Linked DNA regions of Homo sapiens: all the other regions are linked to region 2. Evidence: promoter capture Hi-C in 16 types of primary human blood cells and fetal thymus (Javierre and others, 2016). All regions are on one chromosome and are shown on one strand. Each heading gives the region's core, a stretch centred on a gene start or on the middle of the fragment in contact. The rest is flanking DNA. Distances are from core to core; before and after follow the strand shown. Region 1 has its middle 140 kb from the start of SAMD12. Region 2 holds the start of COLEC10 (collectin subfamily member 10). Region 3 overlaps SAMD12-AS1 (SAMD12 antisense RNA 1). Region 4 has its middle 160 kb from the start of SAMD12.

The links. The method cuts DNA at HindIII sites, captures the fragments that hold promoters and counts their contacts. A CHiCAGO score of 5 or more calls a contact.
Region 1: a fragment that was not itself captured here is called in contact with the fragment with the promoter of COLEC10 in region 2 in 4 of 17 cell types (M2 macrophages, endothelial precursors, M1 macrophages and 1 more); the score reaches 11.4 in M2 macrophages.
Region 3: a contact is called between a fragment that was not itself captured here and the fragment with the promoter of COLEC10 in region 2, in 1 of 17 cell types (M1 macrophages). The highest score is 6.1, in M1 macrophages.
Region 4: a fragment that was not itself captured here is called in contact with the fragment with the promoter of COLEC10 in region 2 in 2 of 17 cell types (M1 macrophages and monocytes); the score reaches 5.3 in M1 macrophages.

What each region holds. Positions count from the first base shown.
Region 1 is chr8:118,760,794-118,763,493 of GRCh38, reverse strand. It overlaps the pseudogene RPS26P35. Among named protein-coding and RNA genes, the nearest start is that of SAMD12, 140 kb to the right of the region's middle. The HindIII fragment of the contact is 1,494 bases long and covers 532-2,025 here.
Region 2 is chr8:119,065,943-119,068,642 of GRCh38, reverse strand. COLEC10 (collectin subfamily member 10) reads right to left here and starts at 1,396. Exons shown (of 6, transcript NM_006438.5): 1 at 1,214-1,396. The coding sequence starts at 1,361. It overlaps LOC101927513 (a long non-coding RNA gene), which reads left to right. Exons shown (of 2, transcript NR_134297.1): 1 at 1-969. RefSeq lists an enhancer at 222-1,421. The HindIII fragment of the contact is 2,529 bases long and covers 1-2,051 here.
Region 3 is chr8:118,670,330-118,673,029 of GRCh38, reverse strand. The region is part of intron 3 of SAMD12-AS1 (SAMD12 antisense RNA 1); the gene reads right to left. Among named protein-coding and RNA genes, the nearest start is that of SAMD12, 50 kb to the right of the region's middle. The HindIII fragment of the contact is 5,440 bases long and covers 1-2,700 here.
Region 4 is chr8:118,778,539-118,781,238 of GRCh38, reverse strand. No RefSeq gene overlaps it. Among named protein-coding and RNA genes, the nearest start is that of SAMD12, 160 kb to the right of the region's middle. The HindIII fragment of the contact is 4,138 bases long and covers 1-2,700 here.

The DNA of each region.
Region 1 (2,700 bases), core at 29-2,528, 310 kb after region 2:
GGAGAGTTTGGCAATGCTGGAATAGGAAGGAATAAAATAACAAATTTAAGGCTGGAGGGGAAAGAAATTGGAGAAAAAAAGTGAGAGAAAAATTAAGTGTGCAGGGAGGGTGACGGTCACATCTAAACCTAATGGCCAGAGACCAGATTATGCAAATTCTTCCAGGCAGCTCCACACTCTGCTCCACCCAAGCACCCAGCCAATGAAAGAACATTTCTTCAATTGATTTTTCATGGTCTCTAAAACTGCCAGCATTATCTAAATTCTTTAATGGTATAAAAAAGAGACATTTTAACTTAATGAAATCAATTTAATGCCATTTTGATAAGAAAGTAATATATGAAGTGATTAATAAATTTGGGAGTTTGAGTTAAGCCCTATCTATACCCACTACCATCAAAATAACAGACTTCAATCAATTCCATTTAGTGCATACCATGTTTCTGGGAAGACATCACCATGCCCTCACCTGTGACATAATTCTTAGAGCCATTCAAGACTCCTCTATCTCTTTCACCATCTCTCCAAGCTTTGGCATAAGAAATTACCAATACAGGCAATGTCTGTTTCCTAAATATCTCTCAAATCTGTCCTCTCCTCTCTATCCACACTACCACTACTTCATCCTAGGCCATCCAATTCCTCATCTGGATTTCTGATATGAACTAAGTGGTCTTGTCTCCTGACTATGCTTTAAAGAGACAATTTGCTAACCTGCAAATCTGTTCTCATCATCTTCTTGCATATCTTTCTTTGGGGTCTCCCACAGCCCTCGGAATAAGGCTTACACATATCCCTATCCTTACAGGATGCTTCCTTAATGGCCTTTCCAGAACAATCCTCTGTCTTTAGGGGCTATCCATGCTATGCCACAGTGACATTTCTTCCAACGTTTTATGCTGTCTCATGCCGTTGGAGCTTTGTTGTGACACTGGATATTCTTGCCTATTTGTCTCATGAAACTGTGTGTTCTGTAAGTGTAGAGACCATGTCTTATTTGTTGTTGTAGCCATGGCACCTGGCATAGTGTTTGGCACATGGTAGAATGAGGCAAAAAACTGGTAACTTTTAAAACAAATCAACAATTTTAAAAGGAAGGAGTGTTTGTGAGCTGGATACAGGTACCATAGTCATGACTGTGAAGCTATCCCTGACTGTCCTAAGAAAAAACAATGGTCCTGAAAGTTTGGGCCAATGGGAGAAGGCTAATGTGGCTGATGGTCACCAGAAAAAAGAAAAAAATTAAATGCTTAAAAGCAAACAGTCACTCCTCTCTTCGGTCCGTACCTCCAAGATGACAAAGAAAAGAAGGAACAACGGTCACACCAAAAAGGGCCGCGGCCACGTGCAGCCTATTCGCTGCACTAACTGTGCCCGATGCATGCCCAAGGACAAGGCCATTAAGAAATTCATCATTCGAAACATAGTGGAGGCCGCAGCAATCAGGGACATTTCTGAAGCGAGCGTCTTCGATGCCAATGAGCTTCCCAAGCTGTATGTGAAGCTACCTTACTGTGTGAGTTGTGCAATTCACAGCAAAGTAGTCAGGAATCGATCTCATGAAGCCCGCAAGGACCGAACACCCCCACCTTGATTTAGACCTGTGGGTGCTGCCCCACGTCCCCCACCAAAGCCCATGTAAGGAGCTGAGTTCTTAAAGACTGAAGATAGACTATTCTCTGGAGAAAAATAAAATGGAAATTGTACTTAAAAAAAAAAAGCAAACTGTCTACTGCATAATTTTGCAGAGGGCTGGCCCTGTTGTAAGGGATGGCTCAAAAGGAAATTACTGCCCGACACAGGAGGAAAGAATACCAATTATTTTTCTCTTAAGCAGGGCCAGGCCAACTCAACAGAAAACCAGAGAGGATGGGCAATGCATTCCTGGAAGGAAGCTACTGGTGCTGGTGCCATCAGCCTGGTTGACGAAAGAGACATGATCTAGGAGCCACCCAGCTGAAAGCTGGTACACCACAGACAGACATGCTTCTTGGAAACGACCTCTGGCAATTAGGAATTCAAGCTTAGCCTCAACTTCTCAGATGAAGCCTTCTAATTTTCCTTTTCCCTCCCATGTGCTTCTTCCAGGAAACCTGCCTTGTCCTCTGTGGTAGTTGTGAAAGATCAAATGTGCCTTTTACCAAAAAGGCACTTTCATCTCCTCCCAACTCCTTTGTGTGTGTCCACATGGGATGGCTCATACAGGGACACTCCTAGGACCTGACATGGGGCCACCTGCACTCTATGCCTATGAGTGTTTGTGTGGAATGAGAGTACACAAAGTCAAGGTGGAACACCAGACCCACTAGTCTAAGACAGTAAATGATTATAGAATAATGTGACCATGAAAACCACCACTTTGAATAGAATTTGTCTGTGATATATTTTGAGCCCAGACAAGTTTTGCATGCTTTTGTGCCACTTCTTCATGATGTTACTCATGCTAACAACTAACTTTAACAAAAACTTTACCAGGAGAATAAGGCAAAATCAGATGTGCTAAGTGCACAGGAAGGAGACCAGAGCCCTGAGGCGTTCTTTTGAAGTCTAAGTACTGGTGTTTCAAAAGTTTAATGAAACCTACTAGACTCTGAGCAAAATTCGTTTTACGAATGGGGCCACAAGGGCACCATCAGCTTCTTGTCTGGCCAGAGGCAGATGTCAGGCCCCTGGAGACTCACAGCCAAGAACCTGAATCTG
Region 2 (2,700 bases), core at 147-2,646:
GGTAAAAAATAGTGCTATTCTCAAATGGATTCTCCCATTTGCAGGGACAAGGAAAACTTTAATTTTCAATGCCCCCATGACACCCCAGGAATAATCTAAAGTTTCCTATACTCTAAGGAAACTTCAGTAACGGTTTTAAGCAAATACTTTATTTCTAATCAAAACTTTCTTTCTGAACATTTGCCCTCGCATTATTCATTTATTCACCCAAGAAATTATTTGGAAGCTCTAAGCTCTCATTGTTCCTCACAGCATTTATTTTATCGTATCAAAGGTTAAAACTTGGATTGCAATCTTAGAGGAAAATTAATTCAGTGATTAAGAAAAATGCACTTTAAGCAATACACATTTAAATAACTGACAGGCATGGGGCAATGTATTTCTGAATTTTGTTTTTTGGAAAAACACTTTTTTCTACTTAAAATTTTAGGCAGCTGCAATTCTTCTACCCTATAGCCTGGAGAAACAGCATGAATTACTAATAAGGGAGCACCAATCTGCAGTGCAGTGACCACTTTCAGAACAAAAGGGTGAAAGCTAAAACCAGAAAAATAGATTTTTTAAAATCTACTGGTTGCTTAAAGCATATTTGGACCTTGGCTGTACTTGAGAACATTTTGCAATATTCTACCATCCTTGAGCAGAAGGCATTTGGCCCCAGAGACTACACTTCCAAATAAAGAAATGTTCATTTATATACTACCTTCAATGCTTGACAAAATGTTTCCATCCTCTACGTTGGAACTCAGGATCCCATTAACTTATGAAATATATATTTAAGATTTAAGTTTTATGTTACTGACCTTTTGCTTAAACAGCTTTACCAGCATCAGTATTAGAAAGGAGGAGAGTACAAACAGTGCAATAATAGAGGTGCTTTTAAGGAAGGAAAGGGCTTCTGGAGACTCATGCCTGGATTGTGCATCTGCCCCGGAGCAGAATGGAACAGGGAATTTCCCCCTGCCCTGGGTAAGTTCCCTCAGATCTCCGTCCTGGGTTTCCCCTTCCCAACATCCTCTTACCTAACATCAAAGGAGAGCTTTAAATAAGTAACAGACCAGATCTGGAAAATCCTGATTTTCCAAAATAGAAGGAAAATGGGAGGAAACTAGGGAGGAGAGAAGAGAAAGTCATTGAAATCTAGGAAGGGGTTCAGAGATGAGGGAAGATATCATATTTATTATACATGAAAATTGTGGTTTTCTTTCCTCACCTTTGGGTCCTGGTGAAATTGTGTGTGTGGCACAGACTTCAGCGGTAGGACGGCTATCAATATCCAGACCCAGACTCTGAATTTGCAAAAGAAATAGTACCAGGAGGATAAATTGGTTTCTTCGAAGCAAGGATGCAAAGCCATTCATTGCTGTGGTTCCTCAGAAAAGGGTCTCCCAGAAATGCCAAATAAACAGCTTTATTTTAAATAAAACCTCCTGCTTTGGGGAAGAAGGGGAAGTATTTGGAACACACATTCCAAAAAGGGCTACAGAGACAGGAAGGAAGCATACCCTAGGTTGTTTATTTTCTCAGTGCTCCAAATGGACCATACATTGTCCAGACTGTTTATTTTCAAGTGACAACAGTTTATTGAAAATTATCTCTGAACTCCAGTGTGCATGTCAGTAGAAACATCCCCAAGAACAAAGAAGATAGAGATGCCTTCTGCTGAGTACTTGAGCTGACAATTTAATAGGCTATATTGCATTTAAACGCTGAGTTTCAGAAAGGTTGTGAACCAGAGAGGTCTTCAGTTAGCAACATGTTATGCAAACACCGTGCATGGCTTTGAGCTTTTCATAAGGTGATATTTATTACCTGCTTGTGCCTGTTGAACACTAATGCTTCCAATGCCCTCCATGACCTTCTTACTCTTGCTACCAAGATTATTCTCTTGTGATTAAATTCAAAAGGAAAGAACAACCAGCTTTTCTGTGAAGCAACTTGGTGATAAGTATTAGGAATATTAAAATGTTTATTACCTTTGGCCTAGTTTATAGCTTTTAGCCTTTCTGGTACACTATCTCAAGGAAATATTCTGAAATGTGGGCAAAGCTTCATTTGAAGGGATGTGGCAGAAAGGCGAAAGGCCTTCAATTGCCTAACAACGTGTTAACAGTGGGCAAATTACGGTAAAATATATGAGAGTGTATGACATGACAATTTTATTAAAATGGTGTTTTCAGCAAGTCTTTTACAAAATAAGGGGGAAAAGCTTGTGGTATTATGTTTCATAAAAAGCTCAACAGATTTAGATGTAGAGTATGTAGATCAGATACAGATATAGATACAGAGATCAGGATCTCTATCTATTCCACAAACCTATAACCTGTACAAATAGTATGGGCATAGTAAGATATTGGAAGATTGGAACCAGAATCACATATATTGGAGAGGCCCCTTACCTTCTCCATTCTTGAACAGCATCTCAACTAAGAGTTAGGTGAAAGGGATTTTGGACCTGCTTTCCTTGAAATTGGAAAAGAAGGACCTTACAGATCCTGATACAGACTGACTGCTGAAAAAATATCCCTAAGAGATGTCGTTACAAGTAACCATCAATCCAAGAAATACAGGTGCATTAGTTTCCTAGGGCTGCCATAACAAAGCACCACAAACTGAGTGGCTTACACCAGCGGCCGGGTGGCTAAAACCAGTGCCAACCCTTTTGGCACCAGGGACCAGTTTGGTGGAAGACAATTTTTC
Region 3 (2,700 bases), core at 158-2,657, 400 kb after region 2:
GCTATTACTCTTTGAAGGACACTTGACTTTCACTGAACATCTGCCTTGCTTAATGTATGTACCCCTACTAAACATGCACACCTGAACTGAATGTTAACCGAGGAAAAAAATGAGCAAGAAACCATTTTGAAAACCCCAGGACCTCTGCTAGTAAGCTAAAATACAACTTGGATCCAAAAAAAAAAAGTCTTACTATAGGATTTTAGGGGTTTCCTATTAAAGGGAAGTTTAAGTTTATATTTCCTGAATAGCCACATTCCATGAGAATCAATAAAAAATTAATGGAAAAACAAGATTAAATACTTATATAAGAATATGAAAGTTACACCTACTAGAATAAAATAATTCTAACGTGAGGCAATATATAGGCAGATAAATATATTTCTTAATGAAAATGCAAATTACACTGGTGAGAGTTGTAAGATGGGTTCCTTCATACACTGATGGAAATTGGGGTTTATAAATTACCAAAACCTTTTACTGAAGTATCCCTGGACACTTTTTTTAAAAGTTCATGTTTTATAGTTTGTTAACTAGTCTTTGAACTTACTTCCATTCTATCCTAGTGAATGATCAAAGAAAAACACAAAGATTTATGAATAAAGCTACTTGTTGCAAGATTACTAATTGTGCTGTGAAATGGTAACAACAACAGTCAGGAATTGGTTAAATTAACCAATTTAGTTGACCTAAAATGTAAAACATTAGTAAGTCATTTAAAATCAAGTTTTTCAGAAAAACATTCAAAATACTGTTGACTGGTGCACTCCCAGAGCCTAAAATAGTACCTAGTACATTATGTTAAGCCCTCAACAAATATTTGCAAAGTGAAAGAATATAAGAATATATTGAATCAAAAAGAGTACAAAATCGTTTGTTTCATTATGATCCAAATTCTCTTGAAAAAAGGACACACACATGCACAACATACACACACACACAAACACACATGCATACCTACATATATCTATACCCCGACTTAGGCCTAGAAAAAGGCCTGGAAGAAAATACACACAATTATTTACAATGGTGATCTTTGGGTGGTAGATTTGTGCATTGCTTTTGTGTCCTTTGTTTCTTTATTTTTCAGATCTTCTACAATACCAGTTACTTAAATACAATAAATATGTATCAGTGCTGTAATCAAAAAGAGCTATATTTTTAAGTGGCAAGACAACTGCATACATTAGAAAGGTAAGTCACTATTCTTTTTGGTGACATTTCCCACTGGCCTTTACTTCATTTCTCTATTGGATCTCTTGAGTGTGTATGGGATCAATCAATTAATTTAGTTTAACAAACATTTGTTGGCTGGACATGGTGGCTTACACCTGTAATCCCAACACTTTGAGAGGCCAAGGCAGGAGGATCACTTGAGCTCAGGGATTTGAGACCAGCCTGGGCAACCTAGTGAAACCCCATCTCTACCCAAAATACAAAAATTAGCCAGATGTGGTGGCACACACCTATAGTCCCAGCTACTCGGGAGGTTAAGGTGGGAGGATCACTGGAGCCCTGGAGGTTGAGGCTGAAATGAGCCCTGATCACCCCACTGCACTCCAGTGTAGGTGACAGAGTGAGACCATATCTAAAAAAAAAATTAAAGTAATAAAAATAATAAAAGAGTAAACACTTATTGATGCCCTATTAGGTGTCTGTCTAATTTGGGGAGACATAAATGAATAGTATACCACTTTTATTAAAGATATAGTTAATATAAAATATCATTTTATATATTTAATATAAAAATAATACAGTGAAGATACAACTAAAGAAACCTTTGAGTAGTTGGAGCCAGTACCATAAAGGAAGTAAGTGGACATAGGTCATCATGGGAGCAAAGATAGGAGTGACTTCACCAGCCTGGGAGAGATCAGAAGGAGCAGTTAAAGCCATAAGAGGAAAACAAGGAGTGCCCAGGATTCCAGAAGCCAAGGGAAGAAAATGAGAGGAGGAGGCCAAGTTGTCATGCTGCCAAAAAATTGAGTAAGACAACACCTGAGATGTGAAGTGAACAGACAGCATGGGTCGCTTTGCTTTTGGGTGTGTATTCTTGTCACATCTTCATCTCTAACCAAGGAGAAATGATAAATGGCATGTCTACTGCCTCCTCCAGCCTCAAGGTTAATTTACCATCGCTCAATCTAACTCTCATTTGTGAGTGAACCTCCTTTCTCTTGGTTATACCTTCACAACCTCAATCACTCCATTCTACACTCTTTCCACATCTCATAACTTCCAGCTTTCTTTCCAAAGAAACACATCCCATGATGCTTTAGAGATTTTAAGACATTTGAAGACAGGGAGCTTATAATTTAAGCTGCAGAAGAGGGTCAATTCAAAGGGGATTTAAGTAACTGGTAAATGGTAACTTTTGAGCAAGATCGGTAGTCCTTCCCTGCTTTTTATCAATTTGGGCACTAAAGATGGATGTTCTTACTGCCAAGTCCTTTGCATTAAAAAACACTGGGTCCAAAGGGAGTAGCCCAGAGCAGAACCTCATTTCCGGTGGGGTTCATGTCAACATACGCTTTACTCAACAGCTACACAGATATAAATATTATCAATATAAGACCATATGATCAAGAACAGCTTAGTCCATGTTTGTGGTATAATGTCATAGATAAGCAATGCAAGTGGGAATTTTATTTACTTGTTTGTTTGTTTATTTATTTAGAGACAGAGTCTTGCTCTGTTGCC
Region 4 (2,700 bases), core at 84-2,583, 290 kb after region 2:
TTGAGGCAGCTATATATGGATAATAGGAATTTAAACTAGGTCAAGAGAATTGTTTCTTTATTCAACAAACAATTTTGAAGCAGATACAGTTTTCTAGGCATTTCAAATCACTAAGAAAGTTACAAAAGGATAAAATTCATATATAATTCTTATTGATAGTAGCTTATATTTATTACTCACCACAGAATAGGCATTGTGTTAGGCTCTTCACATATGTTATCTCTTTTACCTTGACAAAAACCAGCAAAGTGATTAGTATGCCCATTTTAGAGAGAAGAAAACTGAGACTCAAAAATATTCAAAGACTTGCCCAACATTTTTCAGCTAGAATTTTCAAGAGCCAAACCCCACTCTGCAATTCCAAAGCCTGTTTTCTTTCTATTCTCTCACTATTCCTCTTTCAACGTCTCACCATAATGTCAGGTAGAATGGAATAAGCACTGGATTAGATGTACAAGTAAATTATTACGGAACTCAGGGAGGGAAAATGTTGGATTTGAATGCTAGAGGATTTGGGAAGGTTTTCTTCAGGGCATTTAAAATGAACCATATACAATACATGGACTTATAGAGGGAAGGGAGGAGTAGAAAAAAATGGGGGCATCAGGAATGAAAAAAATATCAGCAAAAATTCGGCAATGTCAACTTGCAGGGGAGAGTAGCTGTGTGGTGAGATATAGAGAACAGGCTGCAAATAGGGGCAAATCATGTTCATGTGGAAGTCAATCTCCAGTGTTAGAAAAGATGGTTAAATCTTTTAAAGCATGGACAAAATTTCCCTGTATCTTTACAAACCTGGTTGCATAACTGAAGCAAAGATCAACTTGAGCTCTACCATAATTTTAAAAAACTATCACACTTCCTGTTTGAGCAGGTCTGACTTAATATTTGTCTATAGCACATAGACGCACACACATACAGCCGTGAGCAGCTGATGTCTGAACAATCATATCTTGGCCATTCATTCTCTCCACCCAATTTCTCCCATATGGCAAATTGCCCAGAGATCATTATTAGTTCCACGAATAGCCAATCAGCAAATATTTAGGTAAAGTCAGTCTGTTGCAAGATCCAAAAGAGAGAGGGAGAGGGAAAAGGAGAAAAAGAGGGAGAGAGAGATGGAGAGAGAGAAATGGAGAGACACAGAGAGAAGGAGGGAGGGAAGGAGAGACAGAGAGAGAGAGAGAGAGAGAGAGGAGAGTGCTAGAGTACTTTATTAGTGGCTCAAAAGCAGGTGTCTTAAGAGGAATATAGAGTTAAAAAAAATGGCAAGCCTAGGCATCAATATAGAGCTTGGGGCGGTGATGTTCAGAGACCTGCAGACCTTCAAGATGGCCTATTTTACCCAGTTTTATAGATGAAATGTTTAGGAAGCCTTGAACCTGCACCTAAACCCAATGCTCCTGTTGCCCTAGACTCTCTCCAACCATTTTATCATTTAGTTGTTGTGAAAGCAGTGACTACTGCCTCTAGAATACATCCCATTTGCCCCTGAAGAGAAGGCTTTTTTTGGCTACAGCAAAAGGAAAGTGGGAAGATAAAACAAACTTTAATTCATCTGTTCTTACTCATAGGCTTCCCATCAAGGATGGGTTTTATCCTTATTTAGAATCAATACTAAGTAAAGAAAGTATAAATATACCAATTGAAAAATGCTTTCTGTGGAGGCCTTGGCAGCCACAGCAAATTGCCTGAGGTTTAGAGACACCATGCATTTTCCCTAGGTTTTATTCTGAAACCCTCAAGTGTTCAAGCCAATCATTTCCTGGGACCCTTGATATAATAGCATCTAGGATCTGTTAATAGGGTTTCTTTTTTTGTTTTTTGTTTTTTTTTAGTTCTGAGACAGAGGTAAATTCCTACCAGACCAATGGAGTTTTTACCCCTTAATTGCTTTTGTTGAATATTTCTCCCCAAGAGATAATAGAAGCTATAGTTAAGTTGAGTATTACTATGTTGAGAACATAAGAGGATCTTGGAGAAACTGGAGGATTTCCCCTGGGCATCTCCCATTGGTTAGACTGGTGTCAAGGAACTCAAATGTCCGAATGCTCCTAGAGTCTCCATATGCTGCCGTAAGTGGCATAGACTCTGAATTAGGTGGCCTTAATTCCATTGTCATTTCTCACACTAACCAGCACTTTAACCCAAGGGAAAGTTGAACTCCAAAGAAGGATTTTTTGTCTATATAGTAGGAGAGTTTAACTGGCATGTTCCCTTAGGATCCCCCTAGTGCTAGTCTATTACAATTTCTTTGGGTTGCCCTAGACCAAACTTGTCCAACCCTTGGCCCACAGGCCACATGTGGTCCAGGACAGCTTTGAATGTGGCCCAAGACAAATTTGTAAACTTTCTTAAAAATTGAGGGGTTTTTCTGCAATTTTTTTTTCATCATCAGCTATTGTTAGTGTTAGTGTATTTTACTTATGGCCCAAGACAGTTCTTCTAATGTGGCCCAAGGAAGCCAAAAGATTGGACACCCCTGCCCTAAACAAACATGAAATGAACCGCAAGATAACGGGTCAGGGCTGATCATCCTGAGGAAATAAAAGGGAAATGGATATTGGGGGTTCATTTAAAGGGTTTATGGCTGGATTTGTTCTCAGGCTTGTGGAAGACCTGAAATCTTTTGGCCAATTTTGTCTTTGGGTTAATGAGTCTCAAGTTAACTCGCTTTGTTGAGGACATAGCGGCAACTTA